Linked DNA regions of Homo sapiens: all the other regions are linked to region 4. Evidence: promoter capture Hi-C in 16 types of primary human blood cells and fetal thymus (Javierre and others, 2016). All regions are on one chromosome and are shown on one strand. Each heading gives the region's core, a stretch centred on a gene start or on the middle of the fragment in contact. The rest is flanking DNA. Distances are from core to core; before and after follow the strand shown.

Region 1 (4,433 bases), core at 1,422-3,921, 1.3 Mb before region 4:
ATGGAAATAAAAACGGATCTTACAGGAATTGTTGAAAGACCAAATCCTCAGGAGATTAGCACTCAGGAGATATTAAGTAAACCAGTTTTCCTGGATCTCACTCTGATATCTGAATCTTAATACTAAAGAAATACTTTCACCTATTACAGTTCAGTGTCAGCTAATCAGAAATTTTGGCTAAAGCTAGGAATCATATAAATACATATATTTTAACTTAAGACTTTCACTTGCCAGTAGGTAGAGCCAAGGCCTCTCTTTAAGTGCACATTTTCCATTTGTGAAGCTCCATCTCATTTTTCTTGAATAAATCACTCCCATCATGCATCCTCTATTAGTTGAAGTTTCAGGTATTTTTGTTTTTGTTTTCTTTTCTTTTGTTCTTTGTAGCAGATAAAAACCTTAGAAACTTGCACAATTATTCTGGATTTTAATCTTTGTGTTATTCTTCTACAGTTATCTCATCCACAAACTAATTTTAGATCATTTTTTCAGCAATTCTTCCCTCTTGAGCCTTTCCAAAGCAATCAATTTAATTTTTATGGACACAGTCTCTTTATTTTTATACTTATATTTCATCTATTTGCATAATATTTAAATTATATAATTGCATTTACTAATAAAAGTAGCATAAACGGGTTTGAGGAAAAAATCAGCTGGTTCTTTGTATGCATCAGATTTGATTAATGGGAGAAGACAGACATCAGGAAACTAGAAAGCAGCCTACCACCCATGAGCACTTAGCATGCTATGAGCATCTGTCAGAATGTACAAAGGGAATGGAGAACTTAGGTTGGTTACCTGAGAGAGAGTTACATCTACTGAACAATTAAGTGCTCCTCATCACGAAAGAAAAGGAAAGAATGCGGACTGAATCCTGTGCCCTGAAAGTCGAATCAGCATATACCTGCTGTTTCTATGTCACCAAGAGGCTGATTCCAGGTGGGAGACTCTGGAAGATGAAGCGATTGGATCTTGAACCCAGAGCACCAGCAAAAGGTCCTGAGTTCCATAACAAGCTTTACTCCAGAGTCGCTGGTGTTGGGGAAATATTTGTAGTCATTTGGTCTAAGTTCCCTTGTTTTAGAATTAGACAATTTGACTCTCACATTTCTAAGGTTCGTTTTTAATTCCAAAACAAAGTCTGGTTGTTATCATTCTTTTTGGCCTTTTTCCCTTAGGTCCAATGCAGAGACGATGACCACTAGGGGTCAGACTTTTTACATTACTCCTCTTGAAAGAAGGAACCCAAGTCTTGGATTTTTTAACTGGGGAAAAACTAGAGAGGTCGTCTATCCTGGTAAGTAATGCTTCATTTAAACTCATTCAACATGTGTGACTATTATATTCTTAAAGATTTCTAAGAAATAGAGGTTTCATGATGCTCCCTTCCAAGGAAGTTTTTGATATCTAACCTAGATCCTTCAAATGTAATTTCAATCTATTTCTTATTTGTGATGTCTCAGTGGAAACTATTAATCATTGACTATTATCCTCTGAGTAAGAAATGTATTTATCTGAGCATGTATCAGTTCATGTCTCATTTCTCTAGCTGTCAAATAGGGGTCTAGGACTAGAATCACTTTTTCAATTAATAGTTCAATAAATAAGCAAGAAAAATAAGGTTCCAACTTAAATAACTCAAAATCAAACTGCCAGTCAATGGCTGGGCCAGGATTAAAATTGGGTTTTACATAACTCCAAAGTCCACATTGTTCTCACTAAGAACACTTCTTGCTGTCTCTTACTTAGTGCTCCTGCTGGCCTCTGGCTACTTGGGAGAACCATCGGCCTTTTCATTTAAAAAAAAAAAAAAAGTGAAAGTGGGGGATGAAGAAAGAGGGTCCCCTCAAGCTGTAATGAAGCAGTCACTTCCTTGGTCATCTAGACCACTGCGGTGATGGGCTGAAGTTAGCTCAAGAAGCCATCGGCATCTCTCAGTGCAGGTTTTGACATGAAATGGCAACATTCAGGCTTTGTAGAAGAAGCTGAAGGCAGTAAACTCCAAGCCAGAGTAAAAATCAAGTGTGTTCTGATGTGTTGGATCAAAACTTGGGAACCTCATGTGCTCTATCCTACCCCTGATAACAGCTGCAAATGTTTGTTTTTTTTTCTCTAGCATCTGGCCGGCCCATGTGTAAACAGAATGAAGAGTCAGCATGGGGAAAGAATCTGAATGCCCCGTTTCTCAGCCTCTTAAGGATACAGTGAAATGGGACAGGGTCTGAGTTAGGAAACTCTTTGAAATTACACGGAGATTCAGGCAGCAGCTCCCAATGGCACTATAGAATCTCTCACCTATAAGTCCCTTTTTATGCAAGAAAGACAGTTAAACAAAGGTAGTGTTGGGTAGTGGTAAGAACAGTGGATTGAGAATTGGATGACTCAAATTCCAAATGAGGCTCCTATAATAACTGACCGTGAGCCTTTGGGAAGACTATTCTTTCTGGGTCTCATTTCACCATCTGAGTTATAAGATGGCGGAGTCTTCTCTAAGGTTTCATCCAGCTTTACTTTTCAACTTTTTGGCATAATTCTAGCTGTAAAACAGGGGTCTAGGACTAGAATCTACCATATTGCTATGTTTATTCAATAGGTATATTCCTAGCTACTGTTTCTTCCTTTGACTAAATGACACTTTAAAGGTTATATCAACTCCCCCAAATCTTTTATGTCGCTTTACCTTGTCTCAATCCTAAACAACAAGTTAGGACTAACATCAGTGCTAAAGATAGAATTCAACCTATCAATTATTGTTTCTGTTCAAAAGCTAATTATTTAATCAGGGTCTTCCACTTGTTCAAAATTATAAGCAGATTAAGTGCTGAGCATGATTTTTAATGTGAAACATATGACTTTGGTATTCAAATGTACTTTTAAAGTTTTCAATATCTTTTCAATTTCTAAAAAGTAGATCAGAGTAAAATTTTTTTAAAGTAAAGATACTATTAGCTTTGATAAATGAAGTACAAACTAAATAACATATTATGAATTTGTAAATTCATATACAAATATACCTTGAAAGCTAAGTAAAGAATGTTGACTTAATTTAGCAGGCAATGAATGGAAGAAGGTTTCTAACTGAAGGAGTAATTACAATCTGAGACTAGAAACTGAGTTATTCCAAGAAATTACTCTTTGTAACCCAGCAATTAAACCTCTCAAAGAAGGCAGAATTCTTAGTTTTATGCCCATTTCACTGGATTACATTTCCCCTCTTTAAATTCTATTTTTTCACCACATCGTGATCCTCTTAAGAAAAGTTGTCAAAGAAATGGAAATAGAAGGAATGAGAAATAAAAGTCAAGAAGACATTGTAGACTTGATCTGTCTTATTTGGAGCTTGTATTTAAACAGAGGTACTTTTCATCCTTTCAGAGTTCCAGTTGGCCCCACTTCCAAGATGGCTGAGGATGTTGGCTCCTGCTCCATTCCAGCAGAGGGCGCTCTTGGAGCAGGATTGGGGATGGCAGTGGGAAACTGGGAGGACAATCTGAGCCTCATTCACCAGCCACTTAAGTTTGGTGTGAATCTGAGTCCTTCTGGACTGACCTAAAAGACAGCTCATTGGTCCGTGCCTTACAGAATTCTATTCATAGTCTAGTTAAACTCTGATGAAGACCCCATTTTCCAGCTCTACCTTCTCTGCTTACTGTAGAGAAAAAAGTGACTAAATTATCCTCAAGAAATAGAAAATAAGTTAAGAAATGTGACATCTGGGCACGTGCACAGAGGAGCTACTGAGGACTGAGAAATCAGGAAAAGGTTAGCCAAAATAGGTGTGTGTGAGAGATGTCAAAACTGCTTAGCAAAATCGCCTGTCTACTTTCTACCTCGTCTTCCAGAAGGGAATTCATAAATTTTTTTAAAAAGTAGTAGCAATATCATGGGCAGAGCCCAAATAATGACACAAAATGAATCTTGTACAATTGGCCCTTTGTATCCATAGGTTCCACATCCATGAATTCAACCAAGTGTCGATGAAAAATATTTGGAAAAATAAATGGAAGGTTGCATTTGTACTGAACATGTAGAGATTTTCTTGTCATTCTTCCCTAAATAGTACAGTATAACAACGATTGACATAGCATTTACACTGTATTATTATGAGTAATCTAGCAATGATTTAAAGCATATAGGAGGATGTGCGTAGGTTATATGCAAATACTACACCATTTTATATGAGATACTTGAGCATCCCTGGATTTTGGTATCCTCAGAAGATTCTGGAACCAATCCCTCAAGGATACCAAAGGATGACTATACTAGGAATGAATAGCTGAAATCCATAAAGGTTTTTGAGCTCAAGAATGATGTGAGCAAAGCTTAGCAACTGGGTTGCCTAGCAAAAGATTTATCCATTGCAACCCAGGGACTGAGCTCCAACTTGTAGCAAAAAAAAAAAAAAAAAAAACAAAGAGCACCAAGGAGCAGTG
Region 2 (4,621 bases), core at 500-2,999, 1.3 Mb before region 4:
TGATTCCAACATTAACTCAAAAGTCCACAATCCAAAGTCTTATCTGAGACAAAGTATGTCCCTTCTGTTTATGAGCCTATAAAATCAAAAAGAGGCTCATATACAGAAGGGACATACTTAGTTACTTCCAAAATACAATGGCAGCACAATTATTGGGTAAATACTCCCATTCCAAATGGAAGGAATTGGCCAAAATAAAGGTGCTACAGGCCCCAAGCAATTCTGAAACCCAGCAGGGCAGTCTTTAAATCTTAAAGTTCCAAAATAATCTCCTTTGACTCCATGTCTCACATCAAGGCCACATTGATGCCAGGGATGGGTTCCCAAGGCCTTGGGCATCTCGACCCCTGTGGCTCTACAGGGTACAGGCCTCTTGGCTGCTTTCACAGGCTGTTATTGAGTGCCTGCAGCTTTTCCAGGTACACGGTGCAAGCTGTTATTGGATCTACCATTCTGGGGTCTGGAGGATGGTAGCCTTCTTCTCACAGCTCCACTAGGCAGTGTCTTAGTGGAGACTCTGTGTGGGGGCTCCAACTCCACATTTCCCCTCTGTACTGACTTTGTACAGGCTCTCCATGAGGGATCTGTGCCTACAGTAAACTTCTGCCTAGACATCCATTTGTTTCCATAAATCCTCTGAAATCTAAGTGGAGGTTCCCAAACCTCAACTCTTACCTTCTGTGTGCCTGCAGGCCCAACACCACATAGAAACCACCAAGGTCTGGGGGGCTTGCACCCTCTGAAGCAATGGCCCAAGCTGTATCCTGGCCCCTTTTAGCCACAGCTTAAGCAGGAGTAGCTGGGACACAGGGCACCATGTCTCAAGGCTGCAAAGAGCAGCAGGGCCCTGGGCCTGGCTTATGAAACCATTTTTTCCTCTTAAGCCTCCAGGACTGGGATGGGAGGGGCTGTCACGAAGGTCTGTGACATGCACTGGGGGCATTTTCCCCATTGTCTTGGCTATTAACATTTGGCTCCTCTTTACTTATGCAAATTTCTGCAAGCAGCTTTAATTTCTTCCAGAAAATGTTTTTTTCTTCTCTACCATATAGTTGGGCTGCAAATTTTCCAAACTTTGATGCTCTGTTTACCTTTTAAACATAAGTTTCAATTTCAGACCATCTCTTTGTGAATGCATATAACTGTACACAGTTACAAGCAGCCATGCCACATCTTGAATGTTTTACTGCTTAGAAATTTCTTCCACCAGATACACTAAATCATCTCTCCCAGGTTCAAAGTTCCACAGATCCCTAGAACAGGGGCACAATGCCACCAGTCTTTTCCTAAAGCTTAGCAAGAATAACATTTACTCCAGTTCCCAATAAGTTCTTCATCTCCACCTGAGAACACCTCGCCCTGGACTTTCTTGTCCATATCACTATTACCATTTTGGTCAAAATTATTCAAAAAAATCTCAAGGAAGTTCCAAACTTTCCTGCGTCATCTTATCTTCTTCTGACCCCTCCAAACTGTTCCAACCTCTACTTGCTAACCAGTTCCAAAGTTCTTTTTACATTTTCAAGTATCTTTATAACAGTGCCCCACTATCCTGGTACCAATTTTCTGTAGTATTCCATTTTCTCACTGCTATAAAGTACTACCTGAGACTGAGTAATTTATGAAGAAAAGGCATTTAGTTGACTCAGTTCTCCAGGCTTAACAGGAAGCATGACTGGGGCTCCTCAGGGAACCTACAATCATAGTGGAAGGCAAAGGGGAAACAAGGCACATCTTCCCCTGGTGGAGCAGGAGAAAGAGAAAGCAAAGGGGGAAGTGCCACACACTTTCAAATGACAATATCTTGTGAGAACTCCCTCACAATCATGAGAACAGCAAGGGAGAAGATTTCCCCCATGATTCAGTCACCTTGCACCAGGCCCCTCCCATGAAATGTGGGAATTCTAATTCAAAATGAGATTTAGGTGGGAACACAGAGCCAAACCATATCATACATTATAACAGTCCATGAGAAGATTACCCCAAGACACATCATCATCACATTCACCAAGGTCGAAATAAAAGAAAAAATGTTAAGGGCAGTGAGAGAGAAAGGCCAAGTCACCTACAGTGGGGGCCCAGTAGACTAACAGTAGGCCTTTCAGTGGAAACCCTACAAGCCAGAAGAGATAGGGGGCCAGTATTCAACTTTCTTAAAGGAAAAAAATATCAACCAAGAATTTCATATCCAGCCAAACTAAGCTTCATAAGTGAAGGAGAAATAAATAAGATCCTGTTCAGACAAGCAAATCCTGAGGCAATTCGTTACCACTAGACCTGCCTTACAACACCTTCTGAAAGAAACACTAAATATGGACAAGAAAAACTATTAGCAGCCATTACAAAAACACACTGAAGTACACAGACTAGTGACACTATGAAACAACCACATAAACAAGTCTGCAAAGTAACCAGCTAGCATCATGATGGCAGGATCAAATTCACACATAACAATACTAACCTTAAATGTAAGAAGACGACATGGGCCCCCAATGAAAAGACAGAGTGGCAAGCTGGATAAAGAACCAACACCCACTGCAATGCTATCTTCAAGAGATCCATTTCACAGGTAAGAACATCACAGGCTCAAAATTAAGGGATGGATGAAAAAATTAAAAAGCAGGGGTTGCAATCTTAGTTTCTGACAAAACAGGCTTTAAATCAACAAAAGTCAAAAAAAGACAAAGAAGGGCAATATATAAGGGTAGAGGGTTCATATATATGTAGCATAGAGCTAACTACCCTAAATATTTATGCACCAAATACAGGAGCACCCAGATTCATAAAGCAAGTTCTTAGAAAACTTCAAAGAGACCTCAAATCCCACACAATAATAGTGGGATACTTTAACACCCTACTGACAATATTAAACAAATCATCAAGACAGAAAATAACAGGGATTTTCAGGACCTGAACTCAGCTCTGGATCAGGTGGACCTGATAGATATCTACAGAACCCTTTGACCCAAAACAACAGAATATACATTCTTCTTATTGCCACATAGCACTTACTCAAAAAAATGATCACATAATTGAAAGTGAAACACTCCTCAGCAAATGCAAAAGAACTGAAATCATAACAAGCAGTCTCCTGGACCACAGCACAATCAAATTAGAACTCAAGATTAAGAAATTTACTTAAAACCATACAACTACATGGAAATTGAACAACCTGCTCCTGAATGAATTTAGGGTAAATAATGAAATTAAGGTAGAAATCAAGAAGGTTTTTTGAAACCAGTGAGAACAAAGATACAAAGTACCAGAATCTCTGAGACTCAGCTAAAGCAGTGAAAAGAGGGAAATTTATATCACCAAATGCCCACATCAAAAAGCTAGAAAGATCTCAAGATAACAACCTAACATCACTAAAAGAACTAGTGAATCAAGAGCAAACAAACCCCAAAGCTAGCAGAAGGCAAGAAATAACCAAGATTAGAGCTGAACTGAAGGAGATAGAAATACAAAAGATATTTCTATCTCCTTCGTAGAGATATGAAAAATCCTTCAAGAAATCAACAAATCCAGGAACTGATTTTTTGAAAAATTAATAAAATAGACCACTAGCTAGACTAACAAAGAAGAAAAGAGAGAAGATTCAAAAAACACAATCAGAAATGATAAGGGGGATATTACCACTGACCCTAGAGAAATAAAAACAACTATCAGAGGATATTATAAACATCCCTATGCACATAAAATAGAAAATTTAGAAGAAATGAATAAATTGCTGGACATATACACCCTCCCAAGAATGAACCAGAAAGAAATTGAATCCATGAATAGACCAATAATGAGTTCTGAAATTGAGTCAGTAATAAATAGCCTACCAACCAAAAAAGTCCAGGACCAGGCAGATTCACAGCTGAATTATACCAGATGTACAAAGAAGAGCTGGTATCATTCCTACTGAAACTATTCTGAAAAATTGAAAACAAAATACTGGCAAAACCAAATCCAGCAGCACATCAAAAAGCTTATCCACCATTATCAAGTAGGCTTCATCCCTGGGATGCAAGACTCGTTCAGCATACACAAATTAATAAACATAATTCATCACATACTTAAAGACAAAAACCACATGATTATCTCAAATGCAGAAAAGGCCTTAGATAAAATTCAACATTCCTTCATTTAAAAACTCTCAATAAACTAGGTTTTAATGGAACATACCTCAAAATAATAAAAGTCATATATGACAAACCCACAACCAATATCACAGTGAATGGGCAAATGCTAGAAGCATTCTTCTTGAAAACCAGCACAACACAAGGTTGCTCTGTCTCACTACTCCTATTCAACATAGTATTGGAAGTTCCAGCCAAGGCAATCAGCCAAGAGAAAGAAATAAAGCATATTTAAATAGGAAGAGAGGAAGCTAAATTAACTTTGTTTGCAGATGACATGATCCTACCTCTAGAAAACCCCGTCATCTCAGCCCAAAGGCTTTTCAAACTGATAAACAACTTCAACAAAGTCTCAGGATACAAAATCACTGTGCAAAAATCACTAGTATTCCTATACACAAACAATAGGCAAGCTGAGAGCCAAATCACAAATGAACTCCCATTCACAATTGCTACAAAAAGAATAAAATAACTAGGAATACAGCTAACAAGGA
Region 3 (4,597 bases), core at 883-3,382, 1.3 Mb before region 4:
GTTTTATTAATAAATCTCCATTGTCTGAGTTAGTTTTGATAGGTACTCTTTTATTTGTAGCCAAAAGCATCAAAACTGTTAAACCTCCAAATATTGCATTAACTGTTTTCATAGGAAGTCAGTCCACTCTTTGAAATCAGGAAGATTCATTGTCAGAGGTAATATTAGTAGAGCAATCACAAGATTGAATTTCATCACATCAGAAAAGTGGAGAGAAATGGACAGAGGTACACTGTAAAAAGATTTCCTCCCTAGGTCTTGGCATATTAATTCTTTCACTCAAGAAATGTTTACTGAGCATCATTTATGTGCCTGTGCTTGGTGTCATTTCCATTGAAAGGGAATTTGAGTCTTGAATCTGAATTCAGTTCAAAATTGTTTATTGCGTATATGGAGACTAAATATTTTAGCAAGACTCATTTGGCTGATGAGTAAATCTAAACGAGTGAGGTAAATCCTGGCCTGTTGCCTCTGGCTCCAAAAGCAGCCAGACACTGTCCTTTCCACTTTCTGCTTCATGCCATGATAGAGAGGCCTCTTGTAATAGAAAAACCACTGGTCAGATGAGACAATACCTGAAGAAACAACATTAAATGGCAGGTTTGTTGGTAGCCACAGGGGGACTGCACAGCTGTGGGTCTCTGCTCCAGAGAGCAGCCCACCGGCACAGGCTGCCTGCCAGAGGGTAATTGCAGCTTGTAAAAGCATGCTGGCGCCACCAAGACACAGTCAACTGCCCCTCTCCCTTGAGCCTCATTGCTCCAGAGGTGGGAGAACAGGGAGAACAGCTGACACAATTGGTGGCAAGTTAAATTGTCTGTCCGAACCACGCAATTCATAATCAGAGGGAGGAGGGGCAAGTAAAATAAGCCTTCTTTTTTTTGTTTTTTGGTTGTTGTTTTTTTTAAATTTGTTTTTGTGATGAGTGCCAAGAAATCATTATTTTCCCTCCAGGTGCCCAATAACTGAAAAGCCACTTTTGCAGGCGCCAACGCTGCCATCTCGGTATTGTTGTTGCCCCACTGAAGAGTGGGTAGGGACTGGCAGTTAGACAGACTGTGTTTTAATTGGCCTCCTCCTGGAAGAGAAAGAGCCAAATGTTTGCAGGATGCTTACTCGAGCCAGTTTCAGAGTAATAAAAGTGCATCTTTGATACGCAGAGAGTTTATGCTCTTCATAAAAATGCTAATTTCAATCTTTGCTGAAAGGAGCGGCAAGAATGCTTTCCCCCTTAGGCTTTTTAATACGAATACAGTTGTACTATGTGGATGACCTTGTGCTTCTTAAAGAGGGGCAAAGCTTAAGTCCTGTCTACAGCCTTTCAAATCCCACTCTAAGGATTTTACCACTGTGAATATGAGAGTATTCAAACTCTTTTCATGGAAAACTGGAAAGCAATGTATTTGTTTCTTTAAAAAAAAATCTCTAATACAAATACACAGGGAGAGCTTACCATATTTTTTTCCTTCATTGAGTATGTTTTTCCAAGGTCAATTTAGAGGTTCTTCCTACTTGGCTGAGGAAAAACTGGAGCCCCAGTAACTGCGTTCACAGCCCTCTCGGTGGCTTGGAAACCTTCCCCACCTACAGATGCTACAAGAAGTTGCTGATGTTTTTCCAGGGCCCCAGTGTTTGCTTCTCTCGCTACAGAGAGGGAAGACAGGGTGATGAGTGAGGTTTTATTTGTCCTGTGGGATGACTCATTCGGTAAGAGTTTCTGACCCAGAATTCTAGTCTTTCTCTTCTCTGTTCATCCTTCCTCCCATCCTCTTAGATTTTTCAGTCCTTGGGCAGGTTTCCAGTCACCCTCTCCCATCATCCTCTCCCTCAATCTCAAAATACAACAAGATTTCCTTTAAAAAGTTAAACTTCCCACAATTGCATTCAATTTACTCTGGGAACTTGTTTAAAGGGCACGGGTTTTGAAACATGATCAACAAAATAATCAGTTCTTGATTACATTAAATAGTATCCTTACAGACTGCGCCAAGCCTTAAGAGGGAAAACAGCTACCTTCAATCTCTCTCACCATGAATGGGACTCTGTGTCTCAAAACTTTTTATTGAATATTTCCCGAAATGAAGTCTGTCTTTCCAATAGGAGAGTATGCAGTCTTTCTCAGAACTCAGACCCATCTTCAACCCAGCTGCAGCCAGGTGTGGCTCAGCAGCTTTCAGCAGCTCTCTGATGCTGCGCTGTGTCTCCCCAGCTGACACTCTGCATTCTCAGGAATGCTGGTCAGGTGAAACGGTCAGGTGAGAGGGCATTAAATATGAAGAAGTCAAAACACAGTAGACTAACTGAACAAAACACCACTAATCAAATTTCACTGAAGCCATGAAAATGCAAGTGATCGAATATCAAAATTTATTTTCATAATGCCTGATTTGTAATAACCCTATCATCTCTTCTAATCCACTGTAACATGTACAAATTGCAATTCTCTAAACCTCCTCTTCCCATCTGTAAATTGGATGAAGAAAAAAGGAAAGAAACACAGAACAATACTACCTCTTCTACTCTTTTTTAAGAAATTCCTAGGAAAAACAAGAATACTTCTTATGAAGATGCTGCTGCCCAACTTTATAATGCACTTCCCTTTTATTCCAGGTCACATAATAAATGGTCATACCAAAACTGTCTCTTCCGCATGTTTTAAATCTAACACAATCCAGTAATAACCAAGAAACCCAGTGAATAGACGCTCTTGTAGACTGTATCTTAAAGGAGACAGTTTCTACCCCCACGCCAGAGTGACAAAGGCCAGAGGGGTCAGTCAAATCAAACTGTGTGTTAGGGAAAACGGAGGCTTTAACTCAAAGACTTTCTACAAACACTAAGTTTATGTCAAGGTTAGTGTCACAGAACAGACTAATTGGTATCAGATGCTATCATGCTGTCCTGGAAGTATGAAGAGTGAACGGGTACCTAATGGATGGGATGAAAGGATGGAGAAAAAGCTTGTGAGCATGTTATGAAAGGCTTCAGTGAAGAGTGGAGATGTCTTCCTTGAAGTGTTGACATCTGCATTAATCAAGGTGTCTCTTCAATTAACTAAGTGACGAGTGGCTGGGTGCAGTGAGGTATAAAGAGAGTGCTGTGGGCAGAAGGAACCACATTAGCAAGAGCATGGAGACAATGAAGAGCATGGTGTGAAGGAGAACAAAAGAACATACGAATGATGAATGAATGAGTAAATAAATGCTGTGAAATAAATAGGTAACATTGAGGGGCACTGATGGCATTTGAGCAGAAAAGTGACATAGTCAGACAAATGAACATGGCAACATCATGCTGCAGGGCTCGGTAGTATCAGAAGACAGATAAGCCTGTGACTTCTCTTATTTTTCCTATATGGTCAAATTTAACAAGTTTTATCATAAATTTTTTGATGTGCATCTTCCCCCGTGAGAACAGGTTCAAATTCTCTTTTTGTCTTGTTCACTTCTATATTTCCAGCACCTGCTAGATATCTAGTATACAGGAACCATCCAATCAACACGTATGTTGAATGAATGAGCACATGGATGAATAAATGTATAGAGCTTAAGGAAGCCTAGGACAATGACAGCGAGGACAGAAACAGATGTACCAATGCAAGTCTTCATGCAGTATTAAAATCAACATCATTTGGCAACTGCTTTAGATTTGGGGATGCAGGGTTGGGGCAAAGGTGACAGATTTTGGGATTAAGCTTGTTTGGGTGGGGCTGGAAGGTAGCACTCACAAGAGCAAGAGTGGGACCAGGTTCAGAAGGAGTTGAGGTTGGCTTTGGTCCTGTCAGGTTTGGGTTGCGATGGCAATCTTGTTTAAAATGTCCAGAAAAACTGGGAATGCAGAAACTGGGGCTCAAACGAGAAGTTAAAGCTAAAAAGAGAGGTTTGACTGCTCCCTCTAAAGAAGTATCAGTTAAAGCTGTGGGCAAGGATGGACTTGTCCAAGAGGGAGGGCGGCGAAGAGAAAGCAAACAAAGATAGTGCCTCAGGGAGGAAGGCAAGATGAGCTGAAGTCTGAAGTTTGAGAACCAAGTCTTGATCTCCTGATCCAGTTATCTGATCTCTTATGCATTCAGCTGTCCCAGAAAACACCACAGATCCTTGTTCTGCCTAGGGAGATGAGTCCTTTAAATGCATGCTGCATTTTAGCCACTAACTACAATCACCAATTCTTGCATCAACCACTAACAGTGGCTCAGAGATTGCCACTTGAGGCTGCACATTGCAAACTTATTTTCCCCTCTGATGCTATTTAGTTTCTGATGGTGTTATTAAAATAAAAGGCTATTTTTTAATGAGCTGGGAGAGAATCCACTTAACCGAATTGTTCGTAAAAGGAATAAAACACGTCAAGACTCTGCTTAGCGCCAATCCACCAATATAGGATCCTGCCTTTGCAAGAACCTTCTTATGTAAATATTTACAAGGAGAGTAAAAAAAGAAAGCGGTTTGGGGAGCCACCAGATGGAATAATACAAGAACAAACTTGAACACAGTCAAAATGGGCTTCACCAACAACAGGCGTCCTCTTAGGAATCTACCATTGCCTGGGGGGGTGAGAAAGGAAGAACAGAGAGTTAAAAGGAAAAGCGGCTTCTGGC
Region 4 (4,980 bases), core at 78-2,577:
GTTTCCAGAGATGCAGCATATCTTTTTAGCTAATATTGGCTTTTTTGAAGCTCATAAGATAACAGCTCTTAAAGATCCTGTAGGGATCATCTCGTCCATGCTAGGAAATTAGCTGGTCCTTCCTCAGTAAGGAACTATTTAGATAAAAGCAGTCAGAACTCTGGCCTGAACAGTAAACATTTAACCAGAGTTCAATCAGAATTCAAGGACAGGTTTTCTTAAACTTTCTTTGTTTCTAGGAGATCAGGCAGAGCTGAATTTAACCAAGAATCTTTTGATCCTTTCCACATATAGATATACAATAGTGGTCACATATGTTCTGGGAGTTCCTAGACCTTATATGTCTAAACTGGGGCTTCCTGACATAAAACTATGCTTACCGGCCAGGAATCTGTTAGAAAACTCAGAGCTCAGTAGAAGGAACACTGGCTTTGGAATGTGGAGGTCTGGTTTTGCTCAAAGTGTGCAGTATGTGAAGGAGAACAATTTACTGACCATTACTCTGCCTTACTGATTCAAATTCTGAGGTTTATTGAATAATTTCTTAGATTGCCTTCCAGCTCTAAATTTCTCAGCACCAAAATGAAGTCCATTTCAATCTCTCTCTCTCTCTTTCCCTCCCGTACATATACACACACTCATACATATATATGGTCACAATAGAAAGGCAGGTAGATCAGAAGTCTCAGTTGCTGAGAAAGAGGGAGGGAGGGTGAGCCAGAGGTACCTTCTCCCCCATTGTAGAGAAAAGTGAAGTTCTTTTAGAGCCCCGTTACATCTTCAAGGCTTTTTATGAGATAATGGAGGAAATAAAGAGGGCTCAGTCCTTCTACTGTCCATATTTCATTCTCAAATCTGTTATTAGAGGAATGATTCTGATCTCCACCTACCATACACATGCCCTGTTGCTTGTTGGGCCTTCCTAAAATGTTAGAGTATGATGACAGATGGAGTTGTCTGGGTACATTTGTGTGCATTTAAGGGTGATAGTGTATTTGCTCTTTAAGAGCTGAGTGTTTGAGCCTCTGTTTGTGTGTAATTGAGTGTGCATGTGTGGGAGTGAAATTGTGGAATGTGTATGCTCATAGCACTGAGTGAAAATAAAAGATTGTATAAATCGTGGGGCATGTGGAATTGTGTGTGCCTGTGCGTGTGCAGTATTTTTTTTTTTTTAAGTAAGCCACTTTAGATCTTGTCACCTCCCCTGTCTTCTGTGATTGATTTTGCGAGGCTAATGGTGCGTAAAAGGGCTGGTGAGATCTGGGGGCGCCTCCTAGCCTGACGTCAGAGAGAGAGTTTAAAACAGAGGGAGACGGTTGAGAGCACACAAGCCGCTTTAGGAGCGAGGTTCGGAGCCATCGCTGCTGCCTGCTGATCCGCGCCTAGAGTTTGACCAGCCACTCTCCAGCTCGGCTTTCGCGGCGCCGAGATGCTGTCCTGCCGCCTCCAGTGCGCGCTGGCTGCGCTGTCCATCGTCCTGGCCCTGGGCTGTGTCACCGGCGCTCCCTCGGACCCCAGACTCCGTCAGTTTCTGCAGAAGTCCCTGGCTGCTGCCGCGGGGAAGCAGGTAAGGAGACTCCCTCGACGTCTCCCGGATTCTCCAGCCCTCCCTAAGCCTTGCTCCTGCCCCATTGGTTTGGACGTAAGGGATGCTCAGTCCTTCTAAAGAGTTTTGGTGCTTTTCTGGGTCCCTCAGCTCCCGAAGCTCTTGAGAAAACTATCAAAGGCTAGAATCCCCTTCTAACTCTTTTTTTCCCCCATGATAAGCGCAGTCGGTCACAGTTCAGGTGAGTTCTTACTTGGCATTCAAGAAAATTACAAAATCTGGGTAGTTGTCTGGGCACGAAGCGACAATGGCGTCTATCCCTGGTGCTGACCCTGGGAAGCGCTGACCCAGGTGCTGAAACGCAGACCTCTGAAGCTGCTACCTCTTAGCGTACCTCACTTCCAAACGTCGGGACTAGGGCAAAGGGGCAATCTAAAGACCGAACGCCGTATGTTTGAGATTGTGAGAAGTCTCGTTCCCCTACAGTTTACTTGGTAAAAATGGTAAAACAATTCTACTTTGTAGCTCGTGATGTGAAAATTGAATTAAACTGTTGGCACACACTTTATCTTACCAGAACGGTCTTTATGTGTGTGTGTGTGTGTGTGTGTGTGTTTGTGCGTGTGTGTGTGTGTGTGTGTGTGTTAAGTCTACAGGGACAGAAAGGTTGCAGAAACATTTGAGCTCTTAAAGCCTTTTTGTGTAACTTGGTAATTATAGCAACTATCCTTATTTTTATATCCTTGATTGATTTTAAATGTGACAAAAAATGCGCAGCTGTAAAAACTGGATTTTGTGTGTGACCAAATCTGTTCTTTAATTTAGGCTTTTCAAATTTTTTCCATTGTCCTCCCCACTTCTCTTTCTCTCTTTTTCTATCCCTTCTGCCCTATACAGGAACTGGCCAAGTACTTCTTGGCAGAGCTGCTGTCTGAACCCAACCAGACGGAGAATGATGCCCTGGAACCTGAAGATCTGTCCCAGGCTGCTGAGCAGGATGAAATGAGGCTTGAGCTGCAGAGATCTGCTAACTCAAACCCGGCTATGGCACCCCGAGAACGCAAAGCTGGCTGCAAGAATTTCTTCTGGAAGACTTTCACATCCTGTTAGCTTTCTTAACTAGTATTGTCCATATCAGACCTCTGATCCCTCGCCCCCACACCCCATCTCTCTTCCCTAATCCTCCAAGTCTTCAGCGAGACCCTTGCATTAGAAACTGAAAACTGTAAATACAAAATAAAATTATGGTGAAATTATGAAAAATGTGAATTTGGTTTCTATTGAGTAAATCTTTTTGTTCAATAATACATAATAAGCTTGAGTGGCGGTTTCAGTAAAGTTATTTGAGATAGGTACTCCAATGTTCACAAACATCTATTTAAAATTCTCGGTGGCAATAAAGTTTACATTTTAAATGATAACTATTATAACATGAGTCATTTTAAACAGAAATAATTTCACATAACTCTATGCATTCAAACTTTAATTCAATGATAATTACTGGGAGAGGCTGACATAAACATTAATTACATATTAAGTACACCTAAATTATATGTTGGACTATTGAAATGAGTGTGTGTGAATAGTTAGGCTGAAAAATCCAACTATCTACCAGGTTGATATGTAAAATACATAACATATGAAAAGATGGAAGGAACAAAGTCATTTGGTGGTTGAGAAAAAATCTGACTTAAATAGCTAAAATGAGGTTCTGAATTTGTTTCTAGTTTGTAAACATTTATCTAGAGAAATACCATTGCTTTTGTGTCTTCTTTGACAATCCTCTCTAATTGAACAGTGCTAAATGACTGTTTTAAAAGCAAGCTTTTAAGATATTTTTTCTCAGGGAGAAATATCACTTTTATTATAAGATTCCTTCTGGAAGTACTATAGGTTGCAAGAAATGCATATTGGCTTACCTCACTGAGTGCTATCTATATTGCAGGTATTGGAGCTCAAAATCATAATTATGAAATAGCTGAAGGAGATATCTCAAGTCTTCTCTTAATTCTATCAATATGGGAGTCAAATAAAAACACAAAAATTATTCTTAAACACTCAGTAAAGGTGATAGTCTTATAACAACATGCTAAATGGGATCACTCAAGACAGAATGTAAACATTGCTAATTTAACTTCCTGAGACCTAAAGAGATATCCTTTGGGGGATGTGTGTTTTAGCTATCAACTGCATTTCTGCATAGCTACTGGAATAAAAACCAAACATAAATATGTATGCTCAATATAAATCCTTGTAGTATAAACTAACTGATAGTATCATATAAACATTTAAGAGGAGCTTAATATTTTATAGAAAATATTTGTGTTAGATAATACACATTTGAATGTGGTTGGCTTAGAGGAAGTTAATTTCTAACAGCTGATCAAACAAAAGAAAAAAAGCCAAGCCACTTTACTAATCTCTGTGAAAACAGAACATCCTTTGATGTTCTGGTATACCTTTTATTTGCAAGACATTTAGGTGTGGGGATTAATGCATGTCCACTTATGGGATCTGTCTGTGCCAAAGGCCTTATGTACACTGGCTACCAAAAAATTCAGTGGAGTAACAGCATCATATTATAATTACAGCACAGATGAGAACACAACTTAATGATTTTCTGGGCTGTGTATGAGTGTCAGGGGATTTCGAGTTTTTAGTACCATCTTTGTTGTCAGTTCTCAATGGTAGTATGAAAATAATTGGCTTGGGAAGCTAAGGTGGGTGCATCACGAGGTCAAGAGATCGAGACCATCCTGGCTAACAGGGTGAAACCCCGTCTCTACTAAAAAAAATACAAAAAAATTAGCCTGGCGTGGTGGCGGGTGCCTGTAGTCCCAGCTACTGGGGAGGCTGAGGCAGGAGAATGGTATGAACCCGGGAGGCGGAGCTTGCAGTGAGCAGAGATTGCACCCCTGCACTCTAGCCTGGGTGACAGAGTGAGACTCCTTCTCAAAAAAAAAAAAAAAAAAAAAAAGAAAAAGAAAAAAAAAGAAAATAATTGGCAAGAATTATGTAGTCATATGCTCACATATATACATATTTTTAATTTAAAGCTTAAATTGAGTAAAACATCTGAACATAATCAACTTTCAGCCTCAGTTTGCCCATTTCTGTAAGCAGAGGGTTGTATTAGAAAAGGCACTCACATCTCTTTCAGCTGTGACTGAGGACTGCCACTTTGTGCTTTGACATTGAAAAGGGTGCTCAAGGATTGCTGATCTTGGGCTGTTTTAATTAATATGTAGAGTATAGCTTTGTTTTGCTTTGTTTTATTTTACATATACAGAGGGTCTTACTTTTTACTTCCTATTTAGTTTATTTGAGTTCCTTTTAAGTCTGATTCACTGAAAGAGTCTAGCATTCTAGCCTGTTTATTATCCATCCAGAGTGAATCATCTATATATTTTCCTTCTTCCATGCCACAACCATGT
Region 5 (5,045 bases), core at 893-3,392, 1.4 Mb before region 4:
CTATTCTTTGAGGAGATGAACTAATTTGAGAGAGTAATTTTTATATATTCATTTATTTATCAAGCATTTGCTGAATATCTACCTTGTACCTACTATTGTAGCAGACACAGACACCAGCAAAACATTGATACTGGATCATTAGATGGAAAAATAAGAAATGAAAAAAATGAAGTTATTTGTCTTAGTCTCACTACTGGGTATTGCTCAAATGCTGTAGATGGCACTCGTTATTCATAGACCTCATCGTCTCGAGAGACCCAGCTCTCTTCTCTGGGAATAAAAGTCACTTTTCTTAATGACATCCTTGTGGAAACTTTTGGCTCCAATAAGCTTTGGATCACAACCCAACTACTAGTTTTAAACAGTGATTCAACCACTAGCCCCAAGCAGAAATGCCAATGTCACCGTGCCCTCCTTCAATTCAAGAGTGGGTGTCATAGAATTCCAGTGCCATCGCAGTGCCTAAATTGAGGTGGTGTCAATATATACAAGCCAGTCTCTGAAGGGAGTTGTCGCCCAAAAAATTGTAATGGAGTTAAGCAGACGATTGGCTTTTATGACAGTCTGCTTCTTAGTAAGTCAACAAATTGTTCTTCCATCAGGGGTGAAAATATGAAAAATAAAGAGAACACTTAATGTCACAGAAGGTCAGATCCCATAAAGGGCCTGCATGATATGCAGTCCAACCTTGTCATTTGTGTGAATGGAAAAACTGAGGGCTAAGAAAGAAACATCTTGCACGAGGTCACAGAGAAAGTCAGTGGAAGTGTTGAAAGCATCTCCACAATCTGACACTCCTCATTCCAAGCCTCAGGGTCTTTGCAATACCCTTTAAACCGTACTCTTTAATCTGTATCCCCATCATGTTGTTTCCCCAAAGAAAGAATTTTATGTTTATTAAAACTCAGGCACCATGAGGCCCTATGTTCAAGCCAATATTTTGTGGTTTAGATTCATCTTTCGGTTTGGATTCAATCTATATATAGTTTTCCTTCTATTTTTTGAACAGGGCCCATTTAATTGTGACCTTGTGAAACAAGGTGAAAGTAGAAAGGCCTTATAGTTAGCAGATCCCATAGTGTTCTCCTTTGCTTTACAAAATATTTGGAGAATAAACAATGGGTGAACAGTGTGGTCATTGTCTCTGGTTACAAACGGTGACAGGCACCGGGCTTACTCTAGCTTGTTTCAGCTGTCTCCTTTATGGAGGTCTTTGGGTTGAGACCAGGGTTTCCTTGACAGCTCTTCTGGTGAGCCACCACGCAACCTCCTGCTTGTAGCTCTTCCTTCCTATGGACCTCAGTTTCCTCATCCATAAAATAAGGTTCCTCCCAGCCTTAGCAGATTACATGTTGTTATATGATGATTTATCTCAATGCCTAAAGAAACTATTTAGCTTTCCATTGTGTAGCATACTTTTCTTCAAGCATGATTGAGTTCATTTTCATGAGGGATCATCAAGTATGCCTCAAGCAGCTGAGATACAATATAAAGAAGCAGTGAGAAGACCTGGGTTGGTGAGCCAACTCTGACCCCTGCTAGCCCAGAGATCCACACAACCTCTCCAGGACTCTATTTGTTCATCTGAAGATACAACGTCTTCCTCCTTCCTCTTCATTCAAAAAGTATTTCTTGAAAATCCATAATTAACCAGGATTGGCATGAGATTTTTGAAACATAACAGATACCTAAGTAACCTATAAATTATTAAACATCTTATAGATAGAAAATGTTATCAATATTTTACTCACCTCTGACATAAAGCTTATTATACACCTAGCAGATCAGGATGACCCAAAGAGGGATAAAACACAAGGTAAGATACTAGAAAAATAAAATTAACCAAAAAAGCTGAAATTGGAAAAGAAATATATTCTTGATAGTTCAAAAAAGGACGTTAAGGTTGTCATTATAGCTAAAAGTTTATCTTTCTTTGACTTTTTAATACTTGTTTTATAATTTCAGATTTTTTTTTAATTTCTAAAATTGAGGATATTTTCATTGTTCAATGTTTAGGGCTTCTTAAGGACCTAACCTTAAGAAGATAGGTCAATTCCCATCAACATGTGTTTACAGAGCTCCCCAATGATTCAGAAACAAGCTGCTAACATTGGCATTAACAATACAGAAGCATCCTAAGGCTGGAGGTAGGGAAGTTGATTTTCATATCAGAATCCAAATTATTGGGTGAGGCTCAAGCAATGGCCTGAGATGGTATTTTGAGAGCAAGAGAAGGCAGTGTCTAGTTGTATATTTTACGTTCAACATCCTAAGGAAATAAACAGTTCTGCAGCAACAGGGACAGCTCAGCATCTGAGTCTGAGGCCTTTGTGCATGGCAGTTTCAGAATCTGCTGGGGTTTTCCCCAACCCTTCGCCTCCACTTGAAAGCAGATCTAAGGGCAAGCTGGTCTCTCAAAAAGAAATCACATTCTCTCCTGCCACCAGAGGGCCCCATCACCAGGTAACATGGCAGAAAATTGCTGGCATCTGAGTAAAGGGCTAAGACTAGGAAGCTTGTTCCACCTCCCCACATGGGGTGAGAAGGGAAGCCATGAGTGCCTTGCCCATGCCCCATGTGCAGTTTTGCTTTGCTCCCTAATTAGAAACAATAATATCTCCCACACATTGAGTGCTTACTTAATCACAATAGTCCTGTGAAGTACGTGCTAAAGAGGCTCAGAGTTGTTAAATAATCTGCCCAAAGCATACAGCCAGAAAGGGAAGAGCCAGGATTTGAATCCGAGACTCTCTGATTTCAAAGTTCAGATTCTTAGTTGCAATACTATATTTTTCCTGTTACTTGAATAACTCAAGCAGCTTTTAGTTTATCATTTGGGACCTAGAGGTGAGTTTAAGGAATGCAATGACCATGCTACATGAGAATCCAGCTTATGAAATGATCCTCTTTCTAGGGGGAGGTGGGCTCCTTCCAACTTAGCAAGAAGGAAGCAAAGAATTGGGAGCAATAAGGAAAGAGGAAGTAGAGGAGCCTAGCGACATCCTAAAATGGCTGTGGCTCAGGGGTTCCCTGATTCTGTTTCCTTTCACCAAATCTAGAGCTGTGATGTTATCCAGGCTAAAGTGCAAAGGCACCCTGGTTCAAGATGCAGGTGCTCTCAGCCTAAAATGGAAACAGTCAGGGAAAGACCAGAAGACTGTGGAGGGGCGACCAGGGCTGAACAGGCTTGAGGAGCCTCTTGGGAAGTAAGTCAATCTAAGGAATAGCTGCCAAAGCCCAGGCAGAGATGCCTGAAAAGTGCCTCTGAGCAATAGAGGAAGAATGACACTGAGGACCACCCTTTGACTCATCTCGTGGCTCAGTCCCTAGGGACTTGTGCCCAAATCATGGGGAAAGAAAACAACCTGGATGGAATGTTTTACCCATCGTTTCTTTAAGACTTTGAGAGTAAGGGATCATACCACTGTGGGACCAGTGTAACAGACAATGGTACAAGGTTGGGAGAAAGGGGTTTTTTCCATTGCAGAAGATATGAGCAGAAGTAGCACCAGTATCAGGGGGCAAGAACAGCAGTACTCTTAATGGTGGACAGAATGGCATTGTGCTCCCACTGAGAGATGCCAAGAGCCTTAGCCACAGCAGGAAGCCAAGCAATGGCCTGAGGTGGTATTTTGAGAGCAAGAGAAGACAGAACCCTTGGTATAACTCTCTTGGCACCATCCATGGGGAATACCACCAGCAGCAACAGTGATGAAACTACCAGGGAAACAAACATTTTGGCAACCAAAACTGAGGAGGCTTATTTGTCCATCATGTATACCTCTGGGAATACCTGTAAATAACTAGGAGGATGGCTAAAGAAGGGATAGAAGTTCAATATTTCGCTGTTTTCCTAAATGTCTAAGGAGTCATAAAAGTCTATTTAATTTTCATTAAGATTAATTCACTTTCATTAAAATTCGTTTCTTTCATCTACCACAATGAGGCCATTCAAGAGAAAACATGACTTATAAAAAATGTAACCCCCAAATTTGGAGTTTAGTGGAGGCAAGCTAGGTCCAAGAGTTATAACCTGGCCCTAGGGTGTCAGGGAGGCAGCTTTCCAGGCATAGCCTCTATAGAAAGAGCTTACATAACTCCCTTAAGGAAGGAGTAATGTATCTTAAAGTAATGGATCAATGGTCTGGTTCCAGTAGATTCTTGAGGTTTACATATAAGGAAATGCATGTTTGTAGGAAGAATTCCATAGCAGACTGGAGCTGTGTTACTTAACTTTAGAGGCTACTTCTAGCTCCAATGTTCTGTTGCTCTTTGAAAAGTCAAAAAAAAAAATAGGAGTGAGAAGAAGATATCAGAATGATCTCCTTTCCAAGGTGCCATCTGAATTAAGACAAGCTTCACCTATTTTTCTGGCTTTCAGTAAATGACAAAAAAACAAGTGTACATTCTCTCTCAATGATTTGATCTTCAAAACTAGACTTCTGCTAAAATTGCAAAAACTTTGTGGTTTTCAATAGAAATGTTCACTGTCATGTTCTCTTATGAAATTGCTTTCTTTTCACTACACAGAAGGAAAGATCTAAAGAGGTCTCCAAATTTCTGTTGGGGCCTCTAAGTGTCTGCACTCAGTGATGTCACAGATTTCTGTTGTTTAGCTATCACTGAAACCTATATTGTATCATTTTCCCCTTTCAGTTAAACGTTGCCCTCATCTTGTGGTAACCCTCATTTTTTAAAATGCTCCTTTCAATTTCTAACATCATTCATGTATTTAACTTCCCAGAGAATTTCACAACAGGGCCCTGAAAGTTTGGAGAGTGCCAGGAACAAGGGTGTACCTGGGCCTTGACAATGCCTAGGACTGGGGTGGAATGGAAGTAACCTTTGCTTTCTTCTTACTGAAGATTCAGCAAAGAATATAAGCCTACAGAGAGCCAGCTCTGGGTTCACTGTGCTCCATTTCTTTCTGAACATTTCCATAAAGCAACACCTCCCTACCCAAACTGTAATGCTATTTCATCTAGATAGCTATATCCTTGTATATGTCACATGTGACCCTGCATAGGTTTCCCTCCGGGAATTTC
Region 6 (4,588 bases), core at 1,451-3,950, 1.4 Mb before region 4:
GGGGTCGGGGGCAACAAGATAATTAAGAAAAAGCTTTTCAGAGATTTGAAGTATGAAAAGTTGGCAGACCAAAATTTGGAGGGTTGGGGTTGCAGACAATATTCCCAGGGTGGGGGAAGGGGGAAAGCACATTCAAAGGCTTTGAAGTAACTGGACATCTTCAAGGTACTAGAAGGCCAGAATGACTGTTACTGTTTTTCATTTATGTGGTCATCATAATGATCTCATACTGCTTTTAAGAATAAACCAAAACAATTGTGAATATCGACACACTAGTTTTTTTGTTTTGTTTTGTTTTGTTTCTGGTAGAACAGTGTCTTTGTTTTTCAGTGTTTTTGTTGTTGTTGTTGTTGAATTTTCAGTTCCTAGGTACATGTGCAGGATGTGCAGGTTTGTTACATAGGTAAACATGTATCATGGTGGTTTGCTGCACCTGTCAACCCATCGCCTAGGTATTAACCCCAGCATGCATTAGCTATTTTTCCTGATACTTTCCCTCCCCAAACCCAACATGCCCCAGTGGACACACTAGGTTTTACTTAGGCTGAATTTCCTGTCTTCAAAAAATGTTTCCAATTTAGAAAGTCTCTATATCCAAAGTAAGCTTCTAATCTCTATATACTTAGTAATTATTATGTCGGAAGGACATTTTTGACACCCTCTATTCCGTAGGCTTCAAAGAAAATCAGCTTGCTAAATTTAAGAATTTAAAACAGTAAAACTGGTAGACCAGAATATATCCTGAGAAAAAGCAAAGTAGACTCAAAACCAGCAGTTGAAGTTCCCAAGGTTGTTGGGGATAGAAAAGGGAAAATGAGGGAGATGCTATCTTGACCCCACATACCTACCACATACCTACTCAAACTCATATGTAGAAGAGGAACTTAGATTCTCTCTAATGGATATGAGAGAGGCTCATTATGGTAAGTTAGCAGGGGGGCAAAGTGTGCCTCAATGCATGAAAAAGAGCTAATAGTGGGAGATGTCTAATATGGTAGGGTGGAGAAATGGATATTCCTCTGGAAGTCAATTCAGAAGCCATAAATTTCAGTACAGATTACATTCCATCTGAGGGCCATATAGAGAAGATTCAGGTGCTTTTCAGGACCAACATCATGAGTAAGCTTTAGAGTTTCTTCTAGCACTGAGACATACCATTGAAAAAAGCCTCCTTAACGAAAGATTTAGGACACTATTCTCAGTAAAATCAAGTCTCATCTCCCCAAATTATCGATCAATTAGAAATTCTGATCAGGAGTGGGATGTCCTTAATAACACCAACATCAGAGAGTTGTAGAGAGCTTTGTAAACTATAAACGGTTTCTACAAACCACTGAGCCATGAAAAGAAATTTTATTGGAAATCTTTAGCATTTCTCAGTATGAGTTTAGAAGAAAGAGTTTGGTTAGGGAATTAGAGTAGAAGGACCCAGGTACCTGGCTTGTGCCAAAGTGTTCTGTATCAGGTCTTGGAAAAACTTGAATTATGATTTTTCAAAGCTGATGGGGATGGGTCAGTAAAATTATGGAGCCAGAGGAGACCCTGAAGGTTGAGGAGTTATGCAGATGAAGGTAACAGGGCAGAGGAAGGCATTTTAAATATGAGACAAAGAGCAATACTGTCCAAAGGAAGGAGGCACATCCAAGAAAATGCACACATTAATAGTTCAGGTGGGTATATGTTGTGTGAGCTAGTCTGGTTAACAGGGAAGCTAAAGCTTAACTCGTGAAACAGTAGACATTGATCTAGTAGACCGAGGGTTCTTAATCTCCAGTTTCTGTTCGTCTTCTGAACAAGTAAATATAGTCTCTTATAGGTACAAATCGGGGCTTTCTTCTGACACCCTACAGTTTCCCTTAGGGAATGCGCCAACTCAGACTGAGCCAAGTGAGAGTCCTGGGCTAATATTTATGTTGACTTAAGTCTGATTAGAAGACAAGATGGGACATAGAGTTTGATTAAAATTTTATTGGATAATCATGCTGATTGAATTTTAAAAGATAATCTGCTGTAATAAATTCTCCCTTAATTTCCCTTTGCAATTCCAACCCAGATGAGTGCTAGGATATTTAGGTTGCATTTACTGAATATCTACGCCTGTCAAGCACTGTGGTTAGTGCTCTATCGTCAGTACAAGCCTGTGAGGTAGATGCTATTCTCATCTCACAGAAGAGGCTCAAAGAGGTTAATTTCTTTCTTTATTTATTGAGTCAACATACATCAGTTAAGCACCTCCTAAGTGCTACTGTTGGGGGGCATCTACCAGGAGCTACCATGGGGACACCTACTGCCTTGTCTATGTAGCTCTCCCTTATTCTGGGAACAGTACCTCTTTCGTTCTTGGCTCATCCTCTATCTTTAGTCTATCCATAAGTATCACTAACATTTCTGTTTTCTCACCTAACCCCTCTTCCTTGACCACATCAATGGTAAACTGACTTAGTATTTTGGAATATGGGACTAAGACAAAGTCAGGATAAAGGCTCATCAATGACTGAAAACTATAAAATGAAAAACTCAGGAACTGTGATGGGCCGTGATTTTTGCCAGCTAGAGGAAGTCCACGGTGAAAGGGAAAGATGAAGCTGACATGATGAGAAACAGCAGAGACACAAGACAGAGGCTGGATCCTGATAACAATCATTACTCCACATCATTGCTGTGTCTTTTCAAGAACTGGGTGTTCACCTCTTTCTTAGACCCCCTGATTATATCCCAGTATCCTTCAAAAAATTCTTTTGGTGTGAGCTTGGCTTTTGGGGGTTGTTTTCTGGCTTATTTTTACTTCTAATAGTCTGTCACCATGTTAGGCATGTAAGCCAAAAGATTAAAAAACATACAGTCTCTGTCTCATGATATATAAGAAATATTTCATAAGGACACATGGAATGATTGTCCGTGGTGTAGGGAAGGAACATGATCCCCTAGGGTATGTATCTGAATCATCCAACTCTAGTTTTCCCTTGACACTCCTCCTCTGCAAGATCTTGATCCACTTTCTCCCTCAGGGTCTGGCATCTCTGGCTAAGAATTTTGTAATAGTGATGCACAGTAATAGATGAAAGGGGACTGCAAACATTTTCTGCAAAAGGTCAAATAGTAAATATTTTAGCTTTGGGGGATACATAGACTCTGTTACAACAATTAAACTCTGCTCTTTTTATCCAAAATCAGCCATAGAGCACACTGAATGGGCATGCTTCTGTTCCAATAAAACTTTATTTACAAAAACAAGTGGCAGGATGACTTTGGTCACTGGGCTGCTGTTTGCCACCCTGGCTCTAGGTATTTGGAGGCAAAGTAAAGTTGAGAATCATGATGTGGAGAGTTAATTGATTGGCAGAAATAGGTACCAGGTGCTCTGGAATTACAGACGAAGCACCAAAATAAACCACAGGCATCAAGAAAAATATATTTCTGCAAAAGATGACACCTGAGCTGAGACAAGTTTAAGAGGAAGTTAGCCAGAGCAAGGAGAGATGAACAGAAAAATCAGCATTTACAAGTGCAATGAGCTTTGGTAGACCCTGGCGTTTGAGGACCTACCAGAAGTTCCCCATGATTGGGCAAAATAAGTGTTAGGAAAAATGGCAAGAAATATTAACATGATGAAGCACAAAAGCAAGATAAAGTTTTAAAAAAATTAATAAACAAAGAAATTTGAACTTTATCCTAAAAGCTTTGGGGAACCATGGAAGAATTTAAAACAAACAGAATGAACATCGTCTGATTCCTTCTTTTTTAAAAAAATTAATTATCTCTTAAAGCTATAAAAAGTAGGAACAGGGAGGGATTCCAGGTAGGAAAACATGGCAATTATTCAGACGTGAAGGGATGAGGGCCTGAATTTAGGCAATAGAGTCAATTTACATACTAGAACTGATGGAACACAACTTAGAGACAGGTAACATGTAGGGCTGAGAAAGAAGAAGAAAACTATTCACAAGGAAATTGGATGGATAAGAGGGAAAAGCCACCAATATTGGAACATGTGAGGCATGGTGAATGCAGCTTGGTACATGTTGTGTGTGAGATGCCTGTGGGCCATTTGAGTGGAAATGTAGATGGTGAATAAGAAGCTGGCTCTGGAGATAGATAAAAAGTCAGCTTTTTATATACATTTGCTTACTACATACAGCCCTAGGAGGTAGAAACTATCATTACTCTCATTTCACAGATGAGGAAACTGAGGCCAAAGAAAGGCCAGGGGAATGTTTTCTACAATAACACTAAAATTACAGAATTGGGTGTTAACTGAATATAGGAGCACATGAGCAGGACATTTGGAAAAAGTGTGTGGAATGAAAAGGATGACCAAGGTTGAAACCCCCAACACAAAGACTTTTAAGAGATAGAGAGAGGAGAGACATGGTAGTAATATCCTCTCTAGAGCCAGAATATTTGAGCTCAAATCCCAACTCAGTACCTCTATTTGTTAGTTTTCTCATCTGCAAAAAAATTAAAATAAAACAATAGCAGCACCTAACTCATAGGGTTGTATATAGCAACTAAAAAGATGTACGTAAAAATCTGATCATGCAGCACACCAAGTACTGAGTACTCAAGAAATATTTGCTATTATTTTTAT

Evidence for each region. Contacts are between HindIII fragments. The CHiCAGO score rates a contact against its expected background, and 5 or more counts as called.
Region 1: a fragment that was not itself captured here is called in contact with the fragment with the promoter of SST in region 4 in 2 of 17 cell types (total B cells and neutrophils); the score reaches 5.8 in total B cells.
Region 2: a fragment that was not itself captured here is called in contact with the fragment with the promoter of SST in region 4 in 1 of 17 cell types (total B cells); the score reaches 6.9 in total B cells.
Region 3: a contact is called between a fragment that was not itself captured here and the fragment with the promoter of SST in region 4, in 1 of 17 cell types (total B cells). The highest score is 5.0, in total B cells.
Region 5: a fragment that was not itself captured here is called in contact with the fragment with the promoter of SST in region 4 in 4 of 17 cell types (total B cells, endothelial precursors, monocytes and 1 more); the score reaches 7.4 in total B cells.
Region 6: a fragment that was not itself captured here is called in contact with the fragment with the promoter of SST in region 4 in 1 of 17 cell types (fetal thymus); the score reaches 5.7 in fetal thymus.

Annotation. Positions count from the first base shown.
Region 1 is chr3:188,953,804-188,958,236 of GRCh38, reverse strand. No RefSeq gene overlaps it. Among named protein-coding and RNA genes, the nearest start is that of TPRG1-AS1, 8.4 kb to the right of the region's middle. RefSeq lists silencers at 743-1,037, 3,403-3,697 and an enhancer at 553-1,087. The HindIII fragment of the contact is 3,306 bases long and covers 1,019-4,324 here.
Region 2 is chr3:189,011,850-189,016,470 of GRCh38, reverse strand. It overlaps a transcript of TPRG1 not described here. Among named protein-coding and RNA genes, the nearest start is that of TPRG1-AS1, 67 kb to the right of the region's middle. The HindIII fragment of the contact is 910 bases long and covers 1,295-2,204 here.
Region 3 is chr3:188,976,001-188,980,597 of GRCh38, reverse strand. No RefSeq gene overlaps it. Among named protein-coding and RNA genes, the nearest start is that of TPRG1-AS1, 31 kb to the right of the region's middle. The HindIII fragment of the contact is 1,661 bases long and covers 1,302-2,962 here.
Region 4 is chr3:187,666,741-187,671,720 of GRCh38, reverse strand. SST (somatostatin) reads left to right here and starts at 1,327. Exons shown (of 2, transcript NM_001048.4): 1 at 1,327-1,567; 2 at 2,444-2,809. The coding sequence starts at 1,430. The coding sequence ends at 2,656. The HindIII fragment of the contact is 4,322 bases long and covers 1-2,864 here.
Region 5 is chr3:189,039,090-189,044,134 of GRCh38, reverse strand. It overlaps a transcript of TPRG1 not described here. Among named protein-coding and RNA genes, the nearest start is that of TPRG1-AS1, 94 kb to the right of the region's middle. The HindIII fragment of the contact is 751 bases long and covers 1,767-2,517 here.
Region 6 is chr3:189,101,819-189,106,406 of GRCh38, reverse strand. It overlaps a transcript of TPRG1 not described here. Among named protein-coding and RNA genes, the nearest start is that of TPRG1, 68 kb to the left of the region's middle. The HindIII fragment of the contact is 1,962 bases long and covers 1,720-3,681 here.